Regions from separate parts of the Homo sapiens genome. Here regions 2 and 3 are each linked to region 1. The links are contacts of gene promoters, found by promoter capture Hi-C in human tissues and cell types (Jung and others, 2019). All regions are on one chromosome and are shown on one strand. The core of a region is centred on a gene start or on the middle of the fragment in contact, and the rest is flanking DNA. Distances in the headings are between cores, read along the strand shown.

What was found. The method cuts DNA at HindIII sites, captures the fragments that hold promoters and counts their contacts. A contact is called where the count stands out against the background at its distance.
Region 2: a contact is called between a fragment that was not itself captured here and the fragment with the promoter of BCAS1 in region 1, in 1 of the 25 tissues and cell types used here (dorsolateral prefrontal cortex).
Region 3: a contact is called between a fragment that was not itself captured here and the fragment with the promoter of BCAS1 in region 1, in 1 of the 25 tissues and cell types used here (lymphoblastoid cells).

Annotation. Positions count from the first base shown.
Region 1 is chr20:54,069,163-54,071,862 of GRCh38, forward strand. BCAS1 (brain enriched myelin associated protein 1) reads right to left here and starts at 1,432. Exons shown (of 13, transcript NM_001366298.2): 1 at 1,271-1,432. RefSeq lists an enhancer at 151-1,025. The HindIII fragment of the contact is 15,029 bases long and covers 1-2,700 here.
Region 2 is chr20:53,522,521-53,525,220 of GRCh38, forward strand. It overlaps LOC105372671 (a long non-coding RNA gene), which reads right to left. Exons shown (of 4, transcript XR_001754720.2): 1 at 2,356-2,700; 2 at 2,134-2,245. Among named protein-coding and RNA genes, the nearest start is that of TSHZ2-AS1, 20 kb to the left of the region's middle. The HindIII fragment of the contact is 7,259 bases long and covers 1-2,700 here.
Region 3 is chr20:53,219,846-53,222,545 of GRCh38, forward strand. The region is part of intron 1 of TSHZ2 (teashirt zinc finger homeobox 2); the gene reads left to right. Among named protein-coding and RNA genes, the nearest start is that of TSHZ2, 250 kb to the left of the region's middle. The HindIII fragment of the contact is 3,752 bases long and covers 1-2,700 here.

The DNA.
Region 1 (2,700 bases), core at 182-2,681:
AGTATATACACCCAGGGCCTGAAGCTGCTGTGATCAGCTCAGGATCCCCAGGAGGCTGAGGCGGATCAGGCCCTGGACTCCGGGGGAACAATGTAAGGGACACCAAAAAGCTCAGCCATGGAGATGAATAGTATTTTAACATGAAATTTGTGAAAATCAAAATTACCGCTGTTCCTGATCTTATCTTTCTGTAACATGTTCATAGTTTGTTCATCACGGGTGTCTTGCCATTAATTCTGACTTTTAAAAATGTTGTGTTAACATACCGTTTATCTCCATGACTGAGTTTTTTGGCATCCCTTACATTTCGTGCCCAAGGTGAGAGTCTCACTGGCTGCACCCTCATCCCAGGCCCGACTGGACTCCAGTTCCACAGCATCCTTTCCATGAGACCTGGAACCAGATGCAGCTCCCTCTTCACCCAGCTTCATGTTCCTAGTTGTAAAATGGAGACGATGGTAACAGCGAAAACAAGAACCACAGCTAAGAGTTACTAAGTGCACAGGTATTTACGGGCAGTAGAGTCCTCTCAGCCCTTTGATCTCAGTACTGTTATTAGGTTCACTTTACAGATGAGGAAACTGAGGCCCAGAGGGCTGAGGGAACCTGCTCCAGGGCACCCAGCCAGCCCAGGGTGGAGCTGGGGCTGGCATCTGGCGGTGTGGCTGCAGCGCACCCGCATTCTAATCGCAATGACTCTTCCAGGCAGGAAACTGGTTCAGAGGGAGATGTAAACAGCAGGGGTCCTGAAGCCAGGATTTGAATCAGCAGCTGCCTCATAGGGTGGTCTTGAGCGTTAAATAAGATTCACAAAAGGCACTCCACAAGTCCTTTTTCTTGTCCTCCCACTTCTTTAGGCAATGCCTGAGGTGAAGGCTCAGATTCCACTCGGCTATGGGGCATTCTTGCCCTGACGGATCCCCAAATCACACAGCCTATCCCTCCATCCAGTGACTTCTCCCCATGTCCTGTGCTTGAAATGACCCTCAATAGTTCCACCAAATAGGAGTTATTTATGTGGCTATGCGCCTAACACTGACCACATTGTCATTTGCTCCTTGTAAAACTAAAAACTTTGAGATGAGTGCTATCTTTGGGTCCATTTCACAGATAGTGGAACTGAGGCTTACACATATCCAAGGCCACACAGTGAACAGAAGGCAGAGCTGGGATCAAACTTGACCCTGTCTGACCCCTGGCCTCTATATGACACCGTCTACCACAAACAGCAAACCCTCCAGCCATGCCTAAAGGATCTGAAAGCAGTTACCTGCTGAGCCCCTGTGGGAGTATCTTCAGTCCCCTCGTGTCACCCGGAGCTGCTCCTGCACAGGGTCCTGGGTCTCCAGTGCGTGCTGCCCAGTGCCTGGCTGTCGGTGGAGCCTGGCTCCCTGCACTTTGCTTCCTTGTGCAGAGCCTGCTGGCTGAATACACAGAGCAGGGCAAACACAAGCCTGGGTGGAGTCCTCCCTTCTCCCCGGACCATCCTGCAGAAACAGGTTCTCTTCCTGATGTGGGGCTGCCCTCCCAACTCCAATAAAAACTGAGCACCTGACTCCTCTCGCATTAATGCCTCCCTGGCACCCCAAGTATTCTACCCAGTGCCCCTCACCTACTGAGGCTGCCGGGTTGACCTGGGGAAGCAGTTTCCTTCCCCAGTAACCGTAGGTCATGGTCAGAGCAGGGAAAACACGTTCTGTGAGATTTTGTAGTTCTGTCTGCTGACTTCAGAACACCACCTCCACCACCACCTAACCACCTAATTGGAAGGAAATAGCTTCTCATCCACTCAACTACCCCTAGTCATGTAAACCTTATTCCCAAAGGGGTTTGGACACCAGAAATCAGGTAACCTGAGGGTGGTTTATTGCTCTGGAGACATACCATGATGTTGGAAAGGGCATTCTTTTTCTTTGCAGGCCAGAAATTCGACAGGCTATGCAATTTATTTAATTCAAGCAAGGATGTTGTTTAAAGTGTCTTACAAGGACATATACAATAGATTATGAGAGCATGAAATAACATGTAACAAAAGAAGATTGAAGAACAAAATTTGGAACATCAAATGAGAACAGGATCAAAAATAAATGCTCTTGTTGATTTACAGACTTGCTATGAAGGGTTTGCAGATATGGCTTTGAGCTTCCTAACAGCCAATGCAAGAAAGGAAACTTGATAAGTTACACTACTTAGTGCTCTGGAGAAGACATTCAAGAGAATTGCGACCAATAATTATTGTGGTTTTATTCAACAGTATACTCAGCTTAACCCCTATCATGAATACTTGTCAAGCACCAGGCTATATATATAAGCCAGAGTTTAAAGAGGTGAGTAAAAGATGCTGGGTCTCTACCCTTCTTGCACTCAGTGTCATTGGACATAGAATCCTGTAAATATAAACATAGAATTACAGGGTGTGATTCTCATTATAAAAGAAAAGCCAAGGCAGCTAAGGGAGAGAAATAGAGAGAGCTGGGGAAGGCCTCTTTCAGAAATCAACATTTAAGAAAAAAAATACTATTTAAATAAATGCTGAATACACAACCAGGCACACCGTAATTAGGGTTGTAAAGTCGATTCCAGCTCAGCACTGTACATGTCAATCTGGAATGTAGTAAACCCAATTATTAAGCAGCTGCCATGCACACGCTCTGTGCTGACCCAAGCCTGGAGGCTCAGGAGCTTGAGCTCTGGCCCTGG
Region 2 (2,700 bases), core at 179-2,678, 550 kb before region 1:
TATTTTTAGTAGAGATGGGGTTTCACCATGTTAGCCAGGCTGGTCTCCAACTCCTGGCCTCAAGTGATCCTCCAACCTCGGCCTCCCAAAGAGCTGGGATTACAGGGGAGAGTCACCGCGCCTGGCCTCTTTCCTTCTTAATAGCAGACTCTGACTTTGTTCTGGTTCATTCCTCCCCTGTGTGCCCCAGGCAACCCAGAAAGAGCTGAGACTAATCCCAGCTCTTCCTCATGTGGCATTTTCCTGGCCATTGTTCTGAATGGGTCACATGCTTATCCCCGAACCAGTGACTGGCGAGAGGAATATGACGTTCTGATTACCAATCCCTGCATCCCAGGTCCACCCCTGGACTCAGGGTTAGAGTGAATTCCACCAGAAGCCCATGAGCTGGGCTGGGGAAATGACAGCCTGAAGGTCAAAGCACACCTTCCCTTCTATTGCACAGCCTTTTCCTGTCAGAGAGAGACTAAGCCACAAACAGAAATAACCTGTAAAGAAAGTTTTCGGCTGGGCATGGTGGCTCACGCCTATAATCCCAGCACTTTGGGAGGCTGAGGTGGGTGGATCACCTGATGTCAGGAGTTCGAGATGGGCCTGGCCAACATGGTGAAACTCCGTCTCTACTAAAAATACAAAAATTAGCCAGGCGCAGTGGTGGGACCTTTAATCCCAGCTATTCGGGAGGCTGAGGCAGGAGAGTCGTTTGAACCCAGGAGGCAGAGGTTTCAGTGAGCTGAGATGGTGCCATTGCACTCCAGCCTAGGCGACAAGAGCAAAACTCCATCTCAGAAAAAAAAAAAAAAGGAAGCTTTCTTGAGAACATACAATGTGCCAGGCACTACACATGACATCCACTGTTACCAGTGAGCCCATGTCATGCAACGTAAATCATTTTATCGTCAATTAAAAAGATGAAAACTGGGCCGGGCACAGTGGCTTACGCCTGTAATCCCAGCACTTTGGGAGGCCAAGGCAGGCAGATCACTTGAGGTCAGGAGTTCTAGACCAGCCTGGCCAACATGGTGAAACCCCATCCGTACTTAAAAAAACACAAAAATTAGCCGGACATGGTGGTGGGCACCTGTAGTCTCAGCTACTCAGGAGGCTGAGGCAGGAGAATCGCTTGAACCTGGGAAGCAAGGGTTGCAGTGGGCCAAGATTGCACCACTGCCCTCCAGCCTGGATGACAAAGCAAGACTCCATCTCAGAAAGAAAAATTAGAAAAAGATAGACTGGATAAGAAAATGTGGCACATATACACCATGGAATACTATGCAGCCATAAAAAAAGAAAGAGTTCATGTCCTTTGCAGGGACATGGATGAAGCTGGAAACCATCATCCTTGGCAAACTAACACAAGGACAGAAAACCAAACACCGCATGGTCTCACTCATAAGTGGGAGCTGAACAGTGAGAACACATGGACACAGGGAGGGGAACATTACACACCAGGGCCTATCAGGGGGTGGGGGCAAGGGGAGGGAGAGCATTAGGACAAATACCTAATGCATGCAGAGCTTAAAACCTAGAAGACGGATTGATAGGTGCAGCAAACCACCATGGCACATGGATACCTATTAATAAACCTGCATGTTCAGCACATGTATCCTAGAACTTAAAGTAACATAAAAAAATCTAATTGTATTGCACATATCTAATTATCTGACAATTCCACCTCTAGGTACCTACCAAGAGAATTACTCTCACATGTGCACAAGGAGGTAAAGCGAGGCTGTTTACAGCACCACTGCTGGCAAGTGTGGAAAATTGACAACAGGAGGCAGGTGAATTGGTAGAGGAACAGGTGCAGGTACTGCATTACAGATTGTTCACTGGCTGAGTTCAAGGAGGCTATTCCTCAACATGGGATAAGTCTAGAACTACAAGCATGAACTCATTCCCTATACATAATGTTAAAAGTGAAAAATAACCAAGTTACAGGAAAAAAGTGGGAAGAGAATGAAGCTATTTGTATTTTTTAAAACCTTACTTATCTATGCAATGCATGGGAAAACATCATGAAAAATACACATCAATTCATAGCAAGGATTATTTTCGAGGAGGGGACAGGACTGGGCAAGGCAGGGAATTAAAGGATTACTTTTGTTTTTCTATATTATTGGAAAGACTTACAAGACTCTTCACATTTTCTTGGGAAATTTTTGTAGTAGGATGAGATAAGACTCAGTTAAAAGGAAGACCGCCATTTGGTGAGTGATTCAAAATCTTGTTAGTTCAGATTTCCCTGAAAAAAAAATGCACATTTTGCACATTTATTTAAAACTGTGCACTCAGGGGATTCACAGATTCACTGCTAGTTGTCCAAGAGACCCAGTGGCCTCCGGTTTAACACACCTGCAGTGGAGAGAAAGAACATGGTAGATTAACCAAGACCCCGAATTATCTGCTGCGCGGCCCATGGAGAGGTGGGATCTAATTCTTCCTTTGAGTACAGGCCAGCCTTAGTGATTGGCTTGCCAATGGACCACAACAGCAGAGGTGCTCTGGCCCTTCCGAGGCAGGTGTCAGAAGCGTTGCTTGCTGATTCTGCAGGGGACCCCTGGAAACACTCCCTCCGGGGAATCCAGCATCTGTGTGAGGAGTCTGAGGCTTCCGTGACGTCACCATGCTGGAGAGGCCACGTGTAGGAGGCAGTCCCAGCTGAGCCCAGCCTGGCAGGCATCCGAGCTAGGGCCCCCA
Region 3 (2,700 bases), core at 83-2,582, 850 kb before region 1:
ATTCTGAGTCAAACTAAATATGTATGTGGATCCACATTTGGTTCAAATTTACCAGTTAGACACCTCTAATATAGTGTTGACTCCTCGATTTTGCAAAAGGAAACTGGAGATCTGTCAAGGGATACTCGAAAAACAGAGACAGAGAGCTAGCATTCACATCCACACCATTGAACAAGCTAAGGTGAAGCCTGACTGTGAGATAAGACAAGAAAACCACTTTCCTCTGAAATGAAGAACAATGAGGGCTCTCAGATTTTTCCTTACCATGACCCTTCATTCTCAGTGGAAACCCCTTCTTAACCTCATTATCAAAATAACGCATTTAGCTAACTTGCCATGAAGGAACAGATTTTAAACTTTCATTTTTCTTGGAGGAAAGTCTTTGGGGTAATTGGAGCAAAAAGCTACTAAGAGTCAGTGAATATTTCAGAATGAAAAAATGAAGAAGGAGCTAAGTCACATACATACACACGTTCATACACACACACTTGTCTAAAGGTGGGGCTTTAAGAGTTTGAGCACTGACTTGGGAAGAATTAGCCTCACATCTATTGAAAGCTCCCTGTTGATGAGAAAATTCCTCTACAGGGTTACTGATTAAGGGCCAGTTTTTTTGTTTGTTTGTGTTTTTTGTTTTTCTCCCATGTCAGGGTTAGCTCATGGGCCAACCTATTTTTATGGACACAATTTTATTGGGACACAGCTGTGCCCCTTTATTGATGCATTGTCTATGGCTGGTATCACGCTAAGACAGCACAGCTGAGTCGTTGTACCAGATGCCGTATGTACCACAAAGCCTCAAATGTCTACTATGTGGTCCTTCACAGAAAAAGCTTGCTGACTGCTCCCGGATGTGAGGGGCCGGTCATGCATCCTGTGGCACCTTGTAGGGTATTTTGTGAATGAAGGACTAAGAAAATGATAATGGGTACCAGGAATCAAAAACTCAAATGATTATAGAAAGAAGAAAAATTAAACACAGCAGGCCATGAGAAAACTGTTGTGAACTGGAGTGCTTGTTCTGCATCTCAAGGTGACAGCATCTGCTAAGCTCAGAGATTGCCATCTGGCAGGAATGTAGACCCAGTATTCCCAAACCTTCTGATTCATGAATGATATGGTTTGGCTGTGTCCCCACCCAATCTCATCTTGAATTTCCCATAATTCCCACGTGTTGTGGGAGGGACCCAGTAGGAGATAACTGAATCATAGGGGTGGTTTCCCCCATTCTGTTCTCGTGGTAGTGAATAAGTCTCATGAGATCTGACGGTTTTATATGGGGAAACCCCTTTTGCTTGGCTCTTATTCTCACCTTGCCAGCCTCCATGTAAGACATCCCTTTGCTCTTCCTTTGTCTTCTGCCATGATTGTGAGGCCCCCCCCGCCATGTAGAACTGTGAGTCCATTAAACCTCCTTCCTTTATAAATTACCCAGTCTCAGGTATGTCTTTATCAGCAGCATGAGAATGAGCTAATACAATGAGCACTCATCAATCTGGATTTTCATGTGAAATCTCAATTTTTTAAGTGTTGGTAACTACATTTAAAAATAAATACTGTGGGTATCTATAGGGGCCACCTATTTTTGTTATCTTCTGGGTCAGCAGGGAATGTCCTTATCTTTCTTGTTTCTGATCAGGCTACAGGAAAATGGATTGCTAGAGAACAGAGGTTTTGTGACGGAGTGGTATAAGAAGAAATCTGATGGCCAAGGGCTTGTTACTGGGTCTGTTTCAAATGCCAGCACCTTCTGTGTCTGCCTTCAGACAACACCAAACACCTAAATCATCTTGGTAAACACAGATAGAAAGAGACAGAAAGGTTAAAAGTATACTCATAATCACTTGCTTTTTTTCCCCTCCTAAACGTGTTTGAGAGCAATATTGTTTCGTAAAAACAAAATGACCCCATTTCTAAAGCAATATTCATGCTAAGCTACTCAGCTGTTAAGTATAACCAGCAGTTTGCATTATGATGAAGCTAAGCCAGAATTTCAATTATTTTCTGGACACATTTAAAATTATAATACTTTACTGGGTTAGTGTTATAGTTCATTCAAATTACTCACAAACTATCATATCAATCTCTTGCAACTGCTAATGCCTTACAGATGCGTGAAGTTAGGCGAAATAAGAAACTGACCAGGGTAATGACTTTCATACTGGCATTGTATTTTAAGGGATACATGTCCCTAAGTATTTGGATGGCTAATGGTCAAAAGCTAGCTCTTACTTCTTATAATATTTAGGCTAAAAGATATAAAAAGAGGATAGAGACCATTCTTTTTCCTATTTCCAGGAAAACATCTGGGTCTGTACAAAAATTCCCAGCAGTCCACTCTACCCCTCCTCCCCACAAATTTTACCTCTTCTGACAAATGACTTTAGAATTCTGTCTCCAAGTACCCAAGGGTGGCATTGCTTTATTTTCTCCCTCTGGGACACTGTTGCCACCAACCCTTGAAATCTTCAACATTCTTGCCTCTCTACAGACACTCAGCTTTCAGTGGTGTACCTCAATGCAGACCAGCAGTGAGAGCAAAATTCATCAAGTGCAGGTCCAGTTAATCGACAAAGATTTATGAATGTCACCACCAGCAGGTGCTTAAAATGTGGATCTTCCTGAAGAAGGCGTGCCACTCTAAGCCTCTCCTAATCAATGGGAGCCTTTCATGCCCTTCGCAAAGTCTGGAATACCATG